Regions from separate parts of the Homo sapiens genome. Here region 1 is linked to region 2. Evidence: promoter capture Hi-C in human tissues and cell types (Jung and others, 2019). All regions are on one chromosome and are shown on one strand. Each heading gives the region's core, a stretch centred on a gene start or on the middle of the fragment in contact. The rest is flanking DNA. Distances are from core to core; before and after follow the strand shown.

Evidence for each region. The method cuts DNA at HindIII sites, captures the fragments that hold promoters and counts their contacts. A contact is called where the count stands out against the background at its distance.
Region 1: a contact is called between a fragment that was not itself captured here and the fragment with the promoter of CARD11 in region 2, in 1 of the 25 tissues and cell types used here (pancreas).

What each region holds. Positions count from the first base shown.
Region 1 is chr7:3,001,625-3,004,520 of GRCh38, reverse strand. The region is part of intron 1 of CARD11 (caspase recruitment domain family member 11); the gene reads left to right. Among named protein-coding and RNA genes, the nearest start is that of CARD11, 41 kb to the left of the region's middle. The HindIII fragment of the contact is 4,607 bases long and covers 1-2,896 here.
Region 2 is chr7:3,042,353-3,045,220 of GRCh38, reverse strand. It overlaps CARD11 (caspase recruitment domain family member 11), which reads left to right and starts at 1,354. Exons shown (of 25, transcript NM_032415.7): 1 at 1,354-1,554. RefSeq lists an enhancer at 1,132-1,426 and a silencer at 1,292-1,641. The HindIII fragment of the contact is 17,820 bases long and covers 1-2,868 here.

The DNA.
Region 1 (2,896 bases), core at 234-2,733, 41 kb after region 2:
GACTATTGAGATTATCCAGTGTTTCCCTACCTGGGAAGGCACGTGGTATCTTCACGGTGGGCTGTGGACTTAAGAAGCTGCTGACCTCTTAGCTCGCCCAGACCTCTGTGCCATAGTCAGGGTCTGGTTTCTTCAGCTCACCAGAGTTCCACGTGCGGTTGGTCTGGTCTTCCAGACGTTCATGGATGCTGCCCTTAGTTCTGTGCACATCCAGCAGTTTTTCTCAGCTGCCTCCTTCCCCCTTGGCCTCTCTTGCCTGCGTGGACCTCTGCGTGGCCCCACTCTGGGTGGTCCTGGATCTCACAGTGTCCCTTTGCCCACAAATACTCCCTCGCCCAGGGACTCTGAATGTGCCATCCCAGTGGGGACCCCACATTCCGTCTCCATGGTAACCAGCAGGAAGCTGGTGATGGATGGGGGCCTGGCGTGGAGCATATTGCAGTCCTCAGATACCATCACTTCCCACAGAGTGAGTCCAGGCAGGGAAGAAATGACTGGGGGGAGCGGGGAAGAAGAGGTCGCAGCAGCACCTTCTGGCGCTGATCGGACGTGGAGGCATCATTCCCGTGCCCGTCTTAACTTCGGGTTCTTGCCAAAACCCACCAGTAAGCTGATGCTGCAATGGGGTAAGGCTAGAGAGAGGCCCTTCTGGCAAGGAATTGTTCTTAATAGGCCAGGCTGTGATGATGAGTTAGGCAGGAGACTAGCAGACCACCTTGTGCCATCTGCTGCAGTGTTCGTGGCCTCTCAATGACTGTGGGGCGTCCTTTACTGTAGAGTTAGAATCAGATCGGACTCTTCCACACAGTTGGTGGTTGTTATTGAGCTCTGGGCCAGGCACTGGATATATAGGAGTTGTTGACATCAAATAAACTGTAGAGACGAATCTCTGCAATTCAGAAGTTTTACTTGAGAAGTAAGAACAGCAATTTGGGCTGGGCACGGTGGCTCACACCTGTAATCCCAGCACTTTGTGAGGCCGAGGGGGGAGGATTGCTTGGGCCCAGGAATTTGAGACCAGCCTGGGCAACATTGTGAAACCCTATCTCTACAAAAAAAAAAAAAAAAAATTAAATTAGCCGCGAGTGGTGGCACACGCCTGTCGTCCTAGTTACTCAGGAGGCTGAGGTGGGAGGCTCTCTTGAGCCTGGGAGGTCAAGGCTGCAGTGAGCTATGATGGGGCCACTGCACTAGAGCCTGGGCAACAGAACAAGACCCCTCAAAAAAAACAAAGAATTACAATTTTTGACGTACACACAGACCTGGGTGGTCTTCGTTATGTCCAAAGAACAAAGGTTTGAGGTTTTATTTTTAAAACAGAAGTGTTACGTATTGTTCTTTAAGTTGACCGTCACCAGTGAAGTTTTGGGGAGCTGGCAAGCCCCGATTGGTGAGTGACAGCGGTGGGTAAAACTAACCTTACAGTCATAGCAGATTGTTTCAGTAGCTGTTAGAGAAAACTGGTTTCAGGTTACGGCTGGCAGTGTCCGCAGCCCGGGCTTGCAGAGAATTTCATTTCTGGAGCCATGTTATGTGTCCCGGGTGCTTTTTACCTCCACCCCTCCCAACTCTGTTTTAGGTGGGTGTGATAAGAATGACCCAATTTGCCAGGTGTGGTGGCTCACATCTGTAAATCCTCGCATTTTGGGAGGCCGAGTGATACGGTTTGACTCTGTGTCCCCACCCAAATCTCATGTCCAGTTGTGACTGAGTGTTGGAGGAGGGTCCTGGTGGGAGGCGACTGGATCATGGGGAGGGATGGACATCCCCCTTGCTGTTTTCCTGACAGTGAGTGAGCTCTCACCAGATCTGGTTGTTTAAAAGGATGTGGCACCTTTCCCTTCTCTCTCTCTTCCTCCCGCTCCTGACATAAATGTGCTGGCTTCCCCTTTGCCCTTCCACCATGATTATAAGTCTCCTGAGGCCTCCGCAGAAGCTTTTTGTTTGTTTGTTTGTTTTTGAGATGCAGTTTCATTTGTTTACTGTCTGGAGTGCAATGTCACGATCTCAGCTCACTGCAACCTCCACCTCCTGGGTTCAAGCGATTCTCCTCCGTCAGTCTCCTGAGTAGCTGGTACTACAGGCCCGCACCACCACGCCCGGCTAATTTTTGTATTTTTAGTAGACAGGGTTTCACCATGTTGGCCCGGCTGGTCTCGAACTCTTGACCTCAAGTGATCCACCCGCCTCGGCCTCCCAAAGTGCTGGGATTACAGGCATGAGCCACTGTACGCGGCCTATATGTTATTCTATGTATTTAAAAACATTATTCTGAGCTGGGCACAGTGGCACACACCCATTGTTCCAGCTATTCAGGAGGCTGAGGCAGGTGGATTGCTTGAGCCTAGGAGTTTCAGACTGTAGTGTGCTGTGATCACGCCTGTGAATGGCCAGTGTACTTCAGCCTGGGCAACATAGCAAGACCCCATCTCTTAAAAACAAAAAAACACCACATTATACGGGAAGTAGTCCCAGATGAGTTCAAGAAAGATACAAAGTGCTGTCCCTGAGAAAGGGCTTCCTGTATTGGAAACACCTTGGGTGGTTCCTACAGTGGAAGGAGTGGCCCAGCATGGGAGGCAGAGGACTGACCTACGAGGGTCCAGGTGGCCAAGGAAAGTGGCTGCCCAGAAGCCCCAGGAGTGAGGCTGCTGTTCTTGGGGCAGCCGCAGAGCAGGATGAGGATTGCCACGTTCAGTCCTCAGTGGGCCTGGAGGAACGTGAGTCGCCGTGTGTCAAATGGGGAACAGGATTGCCAGAGAGCTCTTGGATTGCAGGAGAAGGAACAGCTTCGTTAGAAGGAAGCAATTCTATTAACTCGCATGCATGTCTCTTGATGAGCTGGCCTTCTCTGCTTGAAAACCACTGGGAGGGAGAGAAGATGGAGAAAGTTCCA
Region 2 (2,868 bases), core at 105-2,604:
ATTGTACCCAATAGGTGATTTTTCATCCCCTACCCCCTCCCATTCTTCCCCCTTCTGAGTCTCCAACGTCCATGATCCCACTCTGCCTGCCTTTGCCTACCCATAGCTTAGCTCTCGCTTTTAAATAAGAACATGTAGTATTTGGTTTTCCACTCCTGAGTTACTTCACTTAGGATAATGGCCTCCAGTTCCATCCAAGTTGCTGCAAAATACTTTATTTCGTTCTTTTTTATGGCTGAGTAGTATTGCATGGCGTGTGTGTGTGTATCACATTTTCTTTCATCCAGATTTTTGAGTCTGCAATCCATGTAAACCCTTGGGACCATCCCACCCATGACGATGGCCATTTGGGGTAAATTATTAAAATGATGACATCCAGCTGGGCGCAGAGGCTCATGCCTGTAATCCCAGCACTTTGGGAGGCTGAGGTGGGCATATCACTTGAGGTCAGGAGTTCGAGGCCAGCCTGGCCATCATGTTGAAACCCCATTTCTACTAAAAATACAAAAATTAGCCAAGTTTGGTGGTGCACGCCTGTGGTCCCAGCTACTCGGGAGGCTGAGGTGGGAGAATCGCTTGAACCCAGGAGGTGGAGCTTGCAGTGAGCTGAGATTGTGCCACTGCACTCCAGCCTGGGTGACAGAGCGAGACTCCATCTCAAAAAATAAAAATAAAGTAAAATGATGACATCCAAATCACAGTTTCTCTTACAAGTATACTTCACCGGAACATCGAGGGCACAAGCTGATGGTGGGTGTCTTGGACCCCAAAGCTGTCGGGGTGAGGAAGGCCTTTGAAGGGGTGCTGACCACCCGGCATGCCCAGGAAGCTTCCAGAACAGGGGCTGAGGGAGGAAAGAGGCTTGGGGTGTAGGAGGCTGCAGGATTTGATGTGGGGCACCCCGTTCCCCTCCCATTGCAGTGACAGGCTCTGGAATTTCTTCAGAAATTCAGCTAGATCTCGGGAGCCAGTGCCCTGGAGAACCTAGAAGGGAGAGAGCCCCTCCCAAGGCCCCACCTGGACTCTGCCGGGGGTCACGGCTGGGTGGGGACTGATGCCCAGACTGGTCCAGCCTCACCCCGACTGATGCAGGTGGGCTGGGCCCTGAGACTCGCCTTGGTCTCCCCATCTCCGGCTCCCTGATCTGTCCCCAAGCACCCCCACCCCCGGCCCTGTCCCCACTCCCACCCCCACCTCCTTGCCGCCCTCCTCCCGAAGCACCGACTCCGCCCCCTCCCTCTCTTCCTTATCTTTTTCTAACCTTTCGCATTTTTTAGTCTCATTTCCTGTCGGGTTTTGCATTTCCCTCCCCCGCCCCTCCCAGCCTATGACATACTTTCTCTCCTTTTTTCTCTCCTGCCTCCTCTGGCCTTCGGACTCCTGCCCGCGCCGCCCGCAGCCCCCTCCCGGCCCTGCAGCCCCTGGGCGGGCGGCGCCCCTCGGAGGACGGCTCCGGGCCCGGGGGGACGGAGGGCCTGGTCGCCTGGAGGAAGCCGGAGGCCTGCGTGGAGGAGGCGCCCCGCGCAGCTGGCTGGCGGAGCATGAGCGCCCCAGGTAGGCGCAGCGGGGATGGGGGAGCTGGCGGAGGGGGAGCACGAGGCGGGGAGTTGGGGGAAGAGAAGAGGGCACGGGGAGGAGATGGGGGGCATCAGTGAGATGACACGGTGGCGGGGGGGGCGTCGGGGGATGGGAGTGGCTCCCGCTGGTCCCGCGATGCTGGGGGTATCCTTCCCTCTCCATCTCTGTCCCCCTGCCCCCCTTCTCTCTCTCACTCTCCTCTCCCCTTTTTCCCTTCCAACCCTTTTTCTCCCTCACTTTCCACCTCGTGTGCCTCTCCTCCGTGTCTCTTTGAGCGTCTCTGAGTATCACCGCCCAGCAAAGCCCCCACCTCCTCCTACTGGACAGGAAAAAATCGGGGGTCAGGAGGCTGCAGCCCCTTGGTGCACCTGCCCCAGAGGGAGGAAGAGAAACTTTTCTGACACCTGAAAGGCCCGGAAGTTTGCAGACCACAGCCCAGCCTGACTCAGAGGCTCCTGGGAAGGTGGGGCCTGGCTCAGGGAGGAAGGGCAGCCGCACCAAAAGTGGGTGTGGAGCTGGGAGATGGGAGAGGACAGCCCCCCGCGGGGACTGTACTAGAAAGGGGGTGGCGGGGGCACAGGAGAGGGCCCAGGTTCCCGACTGAAACCCGGAGCAGGTCCTAGCGGCCTCAGGCCTGAAAGCCACCTCCCCCAGGAGGCCCCTCCAGGCCCGATGGGGCCACCAGGCCTTCTGCTGAGCCCCCTCTGCAGATAGGGGCAGAGAGGGTGTTTCTGTCCCTCGGGGGCTCTGAGCACCGCTGGAGGCTGTCACGGGGACCCAGGTTCATGGACAGTGGTCTCAGCTGTGAGCTTCGGGGCTGCCCACACAAACTTGGTCTTGGACCAAACTGACCTCTCTCTGCCTGGCCTGCTCTCAAAGCCTTTGATTTGTAGTTCAAAACATTTTCTCCTAATATTTATGACTCGTCTTGAAGGTATAAGGTTACCAACCTACCAGAAAGGGGAGAAAAATAGTCGATCGTTCATTCCACATTTATTGAGCGCTCAGCCTGTGCATAATGCGTGCCGGAAATCCCGGGAGCCGGGAATTGATATGAGGACAGGAATTTCTCCGTAAGTGTCCACTTCTGCGCTTTCGCGGAAACTCCGGTTCTCTCCCCAGCAAGGCATCTGTAAAGAGATGACACCCCTGCCTCAGGCCAGGGCTGCCCTGAGGAGCGCAACAGTGACCAGGACTCAGCGTAATTCAAGGCCAGGGAATGCTTGGACCCGTGTGGATGTTACTTGCCTGGGTATCAGATAGGCAGGCCGTGGCTCCACTGGCCCCAGC